Linked DNA regions of Homo sapiens: all the other regions are linked to region 2. Evidence: promoter capture Hi-C in 16 types of primary human blood cells and fetal thymus (Javierre and others, 2016). All regions are on one chromosome and are shown on one strand. The core of a region is centred on a gene start or on the middle of the fragment in contact, and the rest is flanking DNA. Distances in the headings are between cores, read along the strand shown. Region 1 holds the start of LOC101928236 (a long non-coding RNA gene). Region 2 holds the start of LXN (latexin). Region 3 has its middle 110 kb from the start of VEPH1.

Region 1 (3,780 bases), core at 469-2,968, 1.5 Mb after region 2:
CATGGTCCACAGCCACACCACCCTGAACTTGCCCTGTCTTCTCTGATCTTGGAAGCTAAGCAGGGTCTGACCTGCTTAGCTAGTCCTTGAATGCGAGACCACCTTGAAACACTGGGTGCCGCAGGCTTTTGAAAAATAAAATATATATATACGTTTGATCATTCCCTAATTTTGTAATTCTGAAAATTAAGTATACACTAGATATTTTTATATCTAAAGGCAAGACAGTAATCCAGCCAACATTTTACACTGATCCCTCTTTCCCACCTTAAGAAATAATTCAGGTGGGGTTTTTTTTTGTGTTTTTTGTATTTTTTTGAGGCAGCGTTTTGCTCTTGTCACCCAGGCTGGAGTGCAATGGGCGCGATCTTGGCTCACTGCAACCTGCGCCTTCTGGGTTCAAGTGAGTCTCCTGCCTCAGCCTCCTGAAGTAGCTGGGATTAGAGGCATGCGGCACCACACCTGGCTAACACCGCAAACGGGGTTTCACCATGTTGGTCACGCTGGTCTCCAACTCCTGACCTCAGGTGATCCAGCCACCTCGGCCTCCCAAAGCGCTGGGATTACAGGCGTGAGCCACCGCGTCTGGCCAGTTCAGGTGTTTTTTAAGAGATGAGGTCTCCTTATGTTGCCCAGGCTGGACTTGAACTCCTGGGATCAAGTTATCCTCTCGCCTTAGTCTCCTGAGTACCTGGTACTACAGCTGTGCCCAATCACACCTGCCTTAACTGTGTTGTTTTTGAGAGTCCAGTGATAGTATATGAAAATGCTGTGAAAACTATAAAAATCAGGTATCAAATATAAGTCGACTCTCAAGACTAGGATGTAGATACCTCTGAACGTTTCCTGATTGCTGAAAATAAAAGTCTTGTTCTGTGCTATTTTTAAGATGGGGCTGATAAGCAATATCCAGTTATGTGCTGTATGCATGTGCCTGCGTGTGTATGTGCATGTGTGTGTGACAGTGACACTATAAAGAAACAGTTCCCTGAGGCAAAACTAGACTAGGTCTCCAGTGACTTCAATGTTACAATGCACATAGTTTAAATCGAAATTCCCTCTAAAGCACCTTGTGGTAGATCTGGAGAAAGCTTGTTCTTTTAGTACTAAGGTATCATTGTTTTCACTGTGGTAACAAATGCTATACTTGTTCCAGAGAACCAACATTACAGTAGAGCCCTTGTGTGTGGTCATGGAAAGAACACTGGACTGGGCATCAGAAAAACCACCGTTCTAATTTCACTCTGCTACTGGATCTAAAATCTTGGTCGAGTCCTTTCACATCTCTGAACTTCCATTTCTTCACATGTAATGGTCTTTGTTCCTCTCCTGTATGCTCCTGTAGCATTCTACCCTTTCATGTAGCATTCCATGTACTCTATTTGTTCATCACTTTGGTCTTAGTGCCTAGCATAACATAGTTTAGTGAATACTCAGTAGAGATTTGTTAGAGTCATTCTAACTGTACAAAATTTCATTATGGGCCATTTTTCTTTGATACTGATATTTGTTAGAATGCTATTTACTGTGGAAGAATAATCCCATGGATTACTTATTAATTGCAAGGGTGTTAAGGTACTTTTACAATGGAGAAATCTGATGGATACCACCTTAACAAATGATAAAAAGTAGCCAATAATTGAACAAAAAATTGGGCATCGTGTGCCCCTAGATGTGAAGCATGGAGATACAACATTACCTATGGAGTATTCCTTGAAAAATCTTTAACCTGAATCTAATCATGAGGAAATAATCAGACACATCCAAATTTAGGAACATGCTTCAAAGTAGTTGGCCTGGAATTGTGAAAAATATCACAAGACACACACACACACACACACACACACACACACACACACACAAACTGCTATAGAATTTAAACAGACATGACAGCTATACGCAGGGAACTTGATGTGGTGCTGGTTTACTTTTGTTTTATAGTGTTCAAAATAGTTAATGAATGTGTTCCTGGGAGAAAACTAATTAAAATGTGTAGGGAGCTTCGGAATAGCTGATTCTCATTATTTATAAAAGTTTCCTCTTGAAATTCTATTTCTGTTGAATGTTTATTATGAAATAGAAAACATTACTAAAAGGGGTCAGCCACTTCATTGCTCAAAATAAAATTACAACTTAATCCTTAAGAGGAAAATGGAATCATTTTAAAAATGTCATTTCCAGGGACTTGCTAGGTCCTTTCTATTTTTAATTGTACAGGGCTATCTCCAGTCCCTGAAGTCACTGCTCCAGCCCCAGCTACTTCTGTAGCCCTCCTTCTCCTGTTTTCAAGTTTTGTAATTATTAGAGACAAACAATAAAAAGAAATGAACTACTAGAAAAGCTTGAAAAACTAAATGTTCTTAATATTACAGTTTCTGATTTATAGCTCTTGATTTTCTTGTTGAGGTAAACACTGCTTTAAACCCTCCAGAGTTTCTGAGAGTCCCCTAAAATGAGGGTCTGTTCCTCAGCCCTTCACATGCCTGACATGCCTGCCCTCGCCCACCTCTTCAGCCACATTAGTCCCTAGTATACACACGTATGCACCACATTCTAGCACACCACAGTATTTCTTGTGTCAGTCTTTCCATTAAGATGGGTTTAAGATTAAATAAGTAAAAAGGAGTTAAGTGTTCGTGTAACTGAAAATCCCAGCAGTAGAATACAGGGCATGGCTGCAGGGAAATAAACTAAGTGATTGGATTCTGTTTCTAGCTCTGGTCTCTGCTCTTTTCTCTGCTGGTTCCATTCTCCAGCTGGTTCTCTTTTGTGTCAAGATGGCACTCAGTAGCTCTGTGCTTAAATCCTCCTCTCAGTAATCCCAGCAAGAACAAGCACTTCTCTCTCCTCCCCTTGCAAGTGTTCCAGCAAGAGTTCTGGACATGACAGACATTCAGAACCAATCGCTGTGTGGGAGGGAAGGGCGATGGGAGACTCAGATTAGTTCACAAAGTAGGAAAGAGGTTAGTCCTACCCAAACCACTTTTGCTGAGAATGGAGAAGTTGCAGGTCCTCAAGGGAGAACTGAGGAAGGGAGACTGGGCACTGGGCAGGCTGAAACACAGATGTTCACTGTATTTCTCAATGCACCCAGCGATCTCATACCTCCCCATCTTGGCACCTGTTTTCCCTCTGCCTAAAATGGTCTTCCACACTTATCCTTCTGACCAATGTTTATGAATGTAGTCTTTAAAACCTAGACCACATATTACCTCCTTTTTGTTACCTTGTCAAAAAAAATTCCTCCATCCTCTGAACCCCTTCTGTGCATTGTATCTGTTTCTATTATTACCAGACTGAGTCAAAATTCTTTTTCAAGGCATGGCAATTCTATAAGTCATATATGTTCAGTGTAATATGTGTGTGTGTGTATCTATAGACTCCACATTCTAGCGTACCACAATATTCCTTTTATCAGTCTTTCCATTAAGTTGGATTTAAGATTAAATAAATAAAAAGGAGTTATGTATTCATGTAACTGAAAATCCTAGGGGTAGAATATAGGGCATGTCTGCAGGGACATAAATTAATATATTTTTATACATATATATTAATTTACATATATATTAATTTACATATATATTAATTTATATATATTTAATGCCATTCAAAAAGTGGCCTGTGGCCCAAGGACTGGCACCTGACTCTGAACTTATTACCCATCTTCAACGAGGTAAGTGAAGAATTGAGAGTAAACGTTTAGAAACTTTTATGGCATGTTGACAGAATAATTTGATGTCTGTTGAATCTAATGATAAACAATGCAGGCTTGTATTTTCA
Region 2 (4,082 bases), core at 1,228-3,727:
AGTAGAGACGGGGTTTCACCATATTGGCCAGGCTGGTCTTGAACTCTTGACCTCGTGACCCACCTGCGTTGGCCTCCCAAAGTGCTGGGATTACAGGCGTGAGCCACTGCTCCCGGCCGTAAACTTGCTCCTTATAAACATAATAATAAAGGCTATTTAAGTTCATTTGACCACATTAATTTTTACACATTTTTTAAAGCACAATGATTTTTTTCTTAGACATTTTTGGCTGTTTATTTGGACTAGATATTCCTGGACTGCACATATAATGACAGAATGACTTAGTCTCATGAATCATCTTTCAAATTTTTAATGAAAGAAAATGAGAAACAGGAAAAGGTGAGCTACAGCCAGTTTTAGACAAATATGAAATTATCACTGTAAAACGCTAATTATCTTTTCTTTTCAAGGAGAGAGGAAAAAGCTTAAATATAAGCCATGTTATTAATAAAAAACCTTGAAGTATGGAAATAAAATATGGGCAGTCTTCTACTTAAAATGCTCTTAGACAAATAAGACAAATACTGTTCTCCGAAAGTCTTATTTTTTTATTTCTGGTGTTCTTCTAAAGTGTCTCTCAAATGAACAGTCTTCTTCATGTCAAAGTTCCCCAAATTTCACCAATTCTTTGGTAAATTTATCCCAGGAGACAGTGTAAGTTCGTATCTGACAACCCCATCGAAAATTGGCTGATATTCTGTATTTGCAAAAATATTGCCATGGGTGGGTCAGGGTTTAACAAATGCTGAACTAAGAAACGTGGAGAGGCCAGGCACGGTGGCTCATGCCTGTAATCCTAACACTTTGGGAGGCAGAGGAGGGAGGATTGCCTGAACTCAACATGGTGAAACCCCATCTCTACTAAAATACAAAAAAATTAGCCAGGTGTGGTGAAGTGCACCTGTAGTCCCAGATACTAGGGAGGCTGAGGCAGGAGAAATGCTTGAACCTGGGAGGTGGAGGTTGCAGTGAGCCGAGATCACGCCACTGCACTGCAGCCTAGGCAACAGAGCGAAACTCTGTCTCCAAAAAAAAAAAAAAAAAGGTCATGTGTGAAAGACAGTGTCTCGCAAAGCAAATTTCTCATACACGGACAAGACTGAGAAAAGTTTCATTGACATTTGATACAAGATGATGGGCAAGCAGACAGATGGTATTTAAAGGCAAAGTCAATCAGAACCCCCAAATCCCAGGAGACAATAATAAGCATGAAACTGAGGCCAAAGTCCAGAATCCAGATTTACTGCAGAATCTACATAATCAGAAAGAGATACACCTCAAGAGTCTTGGGTGTGTGCATTACTACCAAGTTAAAGGTCCTGGCCAGGCATGGTGGCTTATGCCTGTAATCCCAGCACTTTGGGAGGCTAAGGTGGGTGGATCACCTGAGGTCAGGAGTTTGAGACCAGCCTAGCCTAAACCCGTCTCTACTAAAAATACAAAAAACTAGCCGGGCATTGTGGTGGGCACCTGTAATCCCAGCTACTCTGGAGGCTGAGGCAGGAGAACTGCTTGAACCCAGGAGGCGGACGTTGCAGTGAGCCGAGATAGCACCATTGCACTCCAGCCTAGGCAACAAGAGTGAAATTCCATCTCAAAAAAAAAAAAAAAAAAAAGAAAAGAAAAGAAAAAAAGGTCTCAATCCAGGCAGCGAAGACCTTGGCCAAACTTTGGTAGAATCTCCAAGTTATCCTAGCCCAATTAACCTAAGACCACCAAGGATAAACCTGTACTTCTACAAAGTCAGGTTTATAGGCCCATTGCAATGAGGTAGACCACATACCAGAGAGAGTGCTTTGTATAAGTTCAGTTTTTAAGTTTATTTTAATCCTTGAAGTAAAATATTCAAAATGACTCAAGTTGGAAGCATGGCGTTACATCAAAACTTATCATTTTAAGATTAGTAAAGGAGAGGGGTACAGGTGCATTTTTTTATTTCTCCTGATCCAAATTACATAATCTCCCAATTTAATACTATAGTTTGCAGATTCTCATACTTTGATTTGGGCAGAACTGGTCCAAACCCACAAAAAGCTGAGGATGAGCAAGCCTCTTCCTGGACTCTCATAAGGGGAAGGGAAATGAAGGAATCGAATCACTACCTGGAGTACTGTGTACCTTGCCCTGCCAGGGACGCTGCATGCGGTGTATAAGGAAGTTGTGCTCCAGTATGCAAGCGAAGCAACCAGACTTTTTTCCCATGGACAGGAAACTAGAGTCTTCAGAGATGTCCTATATCAGCGAAAGCCCCACCCTGCACTTCTATAAAGGTTAATGAAACGAAAGATGCAATCCCAGCGAACCTAGCCCACTGACTCCCTCCCCACACCTCCACCTGCTGGTGCCTGACAAGCATGCTGGCCTCTCCTCCAGTAGGAACCAGCAGGCGGAGTAAGGAAGCCCGCTGCAGGCAGTAGTGGGGCGGGGCCTCAGAAGCAGTCAGCCCAGGGCTCTCGGATGCAGGGAGCCTGGGCCCAAACAGCAGCTTCCGGAGTCGGAAGGAGCTGAGGAAGAAGACTGACTGAAGGAGCTTGCGACTTTTCCGCCTCGGCAACCGGACCCAGCAGCAAGCAGGACGGGCGGCGCTCTGCTACTGGTCCCGTTAAGCCAGAGTAGCCCAAGCCCTGAAGTCACTGCTCATCCGGAATGGAAATCCCGCCGACCAACTACCCAGCCTCCAGGGCGGCCTTGGTGGCACAGAACTACATCAACTACCAGCAGGGGACCCCGCACAGGGTGTTTGAGGTGCAGAAGGTCAAACAAGCCAGCATGGAGGTGAGTTTAGCAGGGGGTGGTGGACAGCAGAGGCTTCAGGATTGCGCTCCCTCCACTCACCCGCGGTCTCAGCCTTTGGGTGCAGACACTCCGTGCCACCCCCTACCCACCTTCTGTTTTAGGACACACTGCTGGTATCTGGTCTTGAGATATTAAGGTTTCTGGGGGAATGTCTATACTCCAGTCTCTGGAGACAGCCCGGGACTGTTTTCACCTTAAGGCAGAGACAAAGTTTTTACGCACACAGTTACAAGAAAACGGGAACACGCTCTAGGTAAGGGGCAGCACTTTCCTTAAGTGTAAACTGTAGAAACCATTCAAAAGACTACTAAGGCTGCCACGTTTCTCATCTGCTACTCTGATCTGGACCAACAAAAGCTCCCATCTTCCAAGACTCTATTGCCTACATTTTAAGACAAATCCTTATCAGACCCTTTGACCAAAATGAAGGGGGAAACAAACAGCAAGAGAAACTGACAATCAAAGTCAAAGAATAAAAGCACTGTGGGCTGACGCTGGCCTTTAGCCACCCAAACACCGCTACCACATGACTGCCTTAAATGATGTGCACCCTCTGCTAAAGGCTTGAATTAAATGTTTAAGGCCTCAGCAATCACTAACGAGGTTTGTTTTCATTTTACGAAAATCTACTGGATTTGAGATTATCCCTTATTTATCTGACAGAATTTTAACTGCTAACAGTCTTTTAGAGGTGACACAGTAGATCTTATTTTGAAACTGTACCAGATAACAGAATTAGGTATAAATTTTCAATCTGTATCTTGATTTAAAAGTGAAATACCATTTCTTAGTCTTATATAATTTGTTAATCATTTTGCAGTTTCACTAATGTATAAGTAAAAACAATACTTAATTGTATTAAGTCTCCAATTGCTTTGCAGTAATCTGCCTCAAAATGAAATTCACATTCATTGAACATTATTTGGAGGGTACACTGAGCTTTATGAAAAAATCTTTTCAAAGGTGATATTGTCATCTTTAGAATTAAACGCTGTTTCAAACTTTCTTATGTAGAGACTTTAAGATCACAGATCCAGGGGTTAAATAAAGTCTTTTGATGATTGAAAGTGAATTGTGCCCAATTTGTATGCTTTTATCCTACTCTTTTGTTTTCATCCAAAATAAACTTGATAGGGGACTTGCTAAATTAGATGTTACATTCATGGTGACATGCCTTTTTCAAGACCTAAGGCTTTCACCATTCCCCTTCAGCCAGCCCCTCCAACCAAATGAGATGCATACTTCTAACAATGCAAGTATAATGTTGTTATAATATTTTCTTGTCT
Region 3 (3,897 bases), core at 570-3,069, 1.1 Mb after region 2:
AATAATACATGCTATGCACCAACATCCTTCTCCTCATCATCACCATTGAGATAATGACCGTGTTAGACTTTGGGTGACATTAGGGGTAAGCTTTGATGGCTGGAATTGGGCAGATAGAGAGGTTTGTAGCAAGAGCAGTGTGGTGCTCTGGGTGAGGGAATTATTCTGAAATAAAGTCAATGGGTGGAAAAGCTGAAAGAGAGAGGTTGAGTTTAGGGAACTCTTAGAAATGTGGCTTGGCAGGAAAGCAGGCCTGTGAAGGGAGCGGTGAGCCAGTGTGATGAAGGACCTGCAACTCTGAGGTGAGGAGTTTGAATGGATAAGCAGTGGAGACCCACCAAAGACATCTATTGATTAGGGTAAGATAAGGAGATAGGTATTTCCTCTGAGTAAAGTAAACATAGACAGGGAAAAATCAAGGCAAGGGAGACCAGTCAGGTAGCAGTAAATCATCCAAACGACTGAAAGGTAAGCACTTTGACCTGGTGTATCCTGACCAGGGTGACTCAGAAATCCAGACACCGTTACTCCCTGTTCTTTCTCCTCTGAAGTGTGGCTTCTATTCAAACAGAGCAATGGGAATCACCATTGTCAGAAGCTGAACTCACATGCCCATTGCCCAATGCCCCATACAGGAGAAATTTAATGAAAACCCAAGTCCATTTCCTCTAAGATTGTGACTTCTAGTCTTTCCTGGAGCTTAAAAGGAAGGCTGAGACAAAGTTCGGATGAAAGTTTGCAGAGCACCACTGACCTCAGCTCCTGGTCTGAGGACAGCCTGTCTCAGAGACTCCCTTGCCTCTTCTTTCTGGGATTGTGATTGGTGGGTGCAGCCTGAGACGTGGTTGGCTGAAGAAGTCTCTTCGTGAGGGAATTAAGCTACTGTGGCTTCATAGGAGGCCAGTTCCAGAGCCGTCTCACCTCCCATTTACCTTCATCCTCTCCTGTGGAACTGGTGTTTTCCTTAGGCCCAAAAGGAGACAAGAGCTGTGAGAGAGGGAGGTGAGGTTTTTTTTGTTTTTTGTTGTTGTTTGTTTGTTTGTTTGTTTGTTTTGAGATGGAGTTTCGCTGTCGTCACCCAGCCTGGAGTGCAATGGCACGATCTCGGCTCAATGCAACCTCCACTTCCTAGGTTCAAGAGATTCTCCTGCCTCAGCCTCTCAAGTAGCTGGGATTACAAGCACCTGCCACCATGGCCAGCTAATTTTTGTATTTTTAGTAGAGACGGGGTTTCGCCATGTTTGCCAGGATGGTCTCGATCTCCTGACCTCAGATGATCCATCTGCCGAGTTTGGCCTCCTAAAGTGGTGGGATTACAGGCAGGAGTCTTTTGAGAGGATCCATCACAATGGTTGGGCAGAAGCTCAATGATTCTAACTTGGCTCATGAATGGCGTGGGGGTAGGAAACACAGCCAAAATATTGGCTATGATTTGAATGTGTCCCCTCCAAAATTCAAGTGTTGCAGTGTGATAATATAAAGATATGAGGCCTTAAGTGATTGGGGCATGAGGGCTTCTCCTGGTGAATGGGATCAAGGCCCTTATAAAAGTGCCTCTGCACGCAGGCTCATTTGCTTGGTCTTCTGCTAGCCCCCTTCCAAAGGATACAGCCTCCACCAGACACCAAACCTGATGGTGCCTTGATCTTGGACCCTCCAACCTCCAGAACTGTGGGAAGTAAATTTCTGTCTGTTATAAATTACCTGGTCTGCGATACTCATAGCACACAAAACAGGCTAAGACATCATCCATATTCACATCTGTGTATTGGTTAATTTTTACTTGGGAAACAGTTTTAGTTCCTTCTGCTAATATAGAATGTAGGGATTCTAGGCCTAAAATGTGACAGTCAGTGTTTACCTCCTCACCCCCACCCTGGTTTTTGTTCAATACAATCAAATAAGAAACCTGCAGCACCTCGTGGTATGGCAGTGGCCACTGGATGGAGCTGGGAATGAAGTGCTGGGCTCCCAGGCTCTGCTGACCCCTGCGGTGCCACTGGGTGAGCCATCTCACCTCCCTCCTTTTCCTTTCCTCGTCTGCGCAATGATGGGGTCCTCTTGCCATCTAAAACTCTTTTCCAGTCTTAGAAAAGGCGAGGGCCAGGCATAGTCATGTCCATTTTAGTTTTATTCCCAAACTGTTTTCCTCACTGATTAACTAGAACAGATTTGGGACTGTGGGAAAGAAAAATATGAATGGTGAGGATGGGGTGCCACCGTGCCAGGAGCTGTCCTCAGCACAAGTGAGTCTGGATGGCGCAGGTTTCCTGGCAACTGGGTGGCACAGGTCAGCTCCCAGAGGGTAGCTATTGGTCCGATGCCTTTTCTCTCTGCTTGATGCTAAACTACAGAGAAAATAAGCCCCATGACTCTTTGGAAATTTATTTTCAAGGACAATGATCATCATGAACATCTTTATCAAATAAAGAAACCGTTTAAAAAAATCTCTGTCTTGTTACACTTACATGACTATGTGGAGTTTTTTCAGGGACTGACAACAGGTTTCTGTCGCCCCTTAACTGGCCCCTTCTAAGATGTTGGGACCAGGGCTCAGTCTTAGAATCTGTAGGGAATGTTGGAGTAGACAGTCCCTGAGGCACACTTTCTCAGAACATGGTATGTGTCTAAACATACATTCAGATATAGCCCACCCTCCACGGAAGCAAGAACACTGCTGGGCAGCCAGCTAGGCCCACTCACTAGCAAAGAACTCATTTCTGCCTTTCTGCAAGGGTGATTCAAATTCACCCTTCCACAAGATAGTCACGGGCCTTCCACAGCCCACATTGTTTGCCAAAGATCTGTGGTCCTGCCTGACCCCACAGGTGAAGCAGTGGGGAGAATGTCCTGCAGTTCTTCCCATCTGACTTTGCAGCAGGCCTTTAGCTTCCTGGCCTGTGCTGTACTGGAAGTGGGATCTACCCTCTGAGCCCTCAACAGGCCTAAGTAATAGCTGGGGAGATAGAGACTCCTGCCCTGTTGGCTGATTCTTCTGTCCCTCGGGGTGCATTGTTGCTCTTTGTAGCACCAGAGGGGAAGGAGCGTATTCTTGGCCTGACACTGGCAGAAGAGAAGCCATGTCAGTCTGCCCAAGAACAGCTGGGCCCCAAACAAAGCTGGAGGCTCCTGTTATGCATGCTCCTTTGGGGCTGCTGATCTGCTTTTTAAAATAAACCTGTTTTCCAAGTATCAGATCTGAGATGATGCCAAGATTAAAAGAGCTTCCTTTCATTTTCCTTTTTCCCTCTGGGATGCCATTATGGAATAAGAAGCTGTCACCAGCCTTACCTGGATTACTCTCTAGAAGGAAAGACATCTGGTGGTATTTTTTTCCTTCAGGATAAATATTTTACCTAACTTATCAAAGCCAAATTTCTGGCCCCTTCATCCCATGACTTTAAGCCAGTGTCTGTCCTTTGTGCAAATCTGATTTTGGATTTAAAGTTCCGCAAGGCTTCTTTTGTGGTGGGTTCATGAGTTTTCAGAAGAGAGTGAGAGAGAGGAATAGGGGCTATTTGCTTCATATCGCCCCAGAAGGAAGCTTTGTCTCTACTCTCTTGAGAATCCTCCCTGTTGTTTTTAATATTTGGGGTCCTAATCAGATGCTCCAGTACTTTCCTTTTATTGTTCGTCCCCCTGCCATCCTTTATTGAGGCTGCCATTGCATTAGATAATTACATTCACCCTCCCTGAGCTCCCCCTTCGCAGACCTTCTTGGAAGGCTGAGCTCATGACTCATGCTTCTCTGATATAAAGTGACTCTCTGAATTCATCAATACCTGACACAGGGCTGCCCCTGTCCCCATTAGGCACTGCATCATTGACTGGTTGGTTAATTTCAGAATTTAGTTTAGGGTCATAAGAATGGTTGCAAAATTTTTTTGACATCAAGGC

What was found. The method cuts DNA at HindIII sites, captures the fragments that hold promoters and counts their contacts. A CHiCAGO score of 5 or more calls a contact.
Region 1: a contact is called between a fragment that was not itself captured here and the fragment with the promoter of LXN in region 2, in 1 of 17 cell types (erythroblasts). The highest score is 6.1, in erythroblasts.
Region 3: a contact is called between a fragment that was not itself captured here and the fragment with the promoter of LXN in region 2, in 1 of 17 cell types (M0 macrophages). The highest score is 6.4, in M0 macrophages.

What each region holds. Positions count from the first base shown.
Region 1 is chr3:157,170,265-157,174,044 of GRCh38, reverse strand. LOC101928236 (a long non-coding RNA gene) reads right to left here and starts at 345. Exons shown (of 10, transcript XR_007096141.1): 1 at 1-345. It also overlaps the pseudogene RNA5SP146. The HindIII fragment of the contact is 1,250 bases long and covers 1,094-2,343 here.
Region 2 is chr3:158,671,043-158,675,124 of GRCh38, reverse strand. LXN (latexin) reads left to right here and starts at 2,477. Exons shown (of 6, transcript NM_020169.4): 1 at 2,477-2,775. The coding sequence starts at 2,647. All of the region lies in intron 13 of GFM1 (G elongation factor mitochondrial 1), which reads right to left. RefSeq lists enhancers at 2,104-2,293, 2,604-2,653, 2,075-2,667, 3,094-3,153, 2,668-3,260. The HindIII fragment of the contact is 4,555 bases long and covers 427-4,082 here.
Region 3 is chr3:157,611,721-157,615,617 of GRCh38, reverse strand. No RefSeq gene overlaps it. Among named protein-coding and RNA genes, the nearest start is that of VEPH1, 110 kb to the right of the region's middle. The HindIII fragment of the contact is 3,454 bases long and covers 93-3,546 here.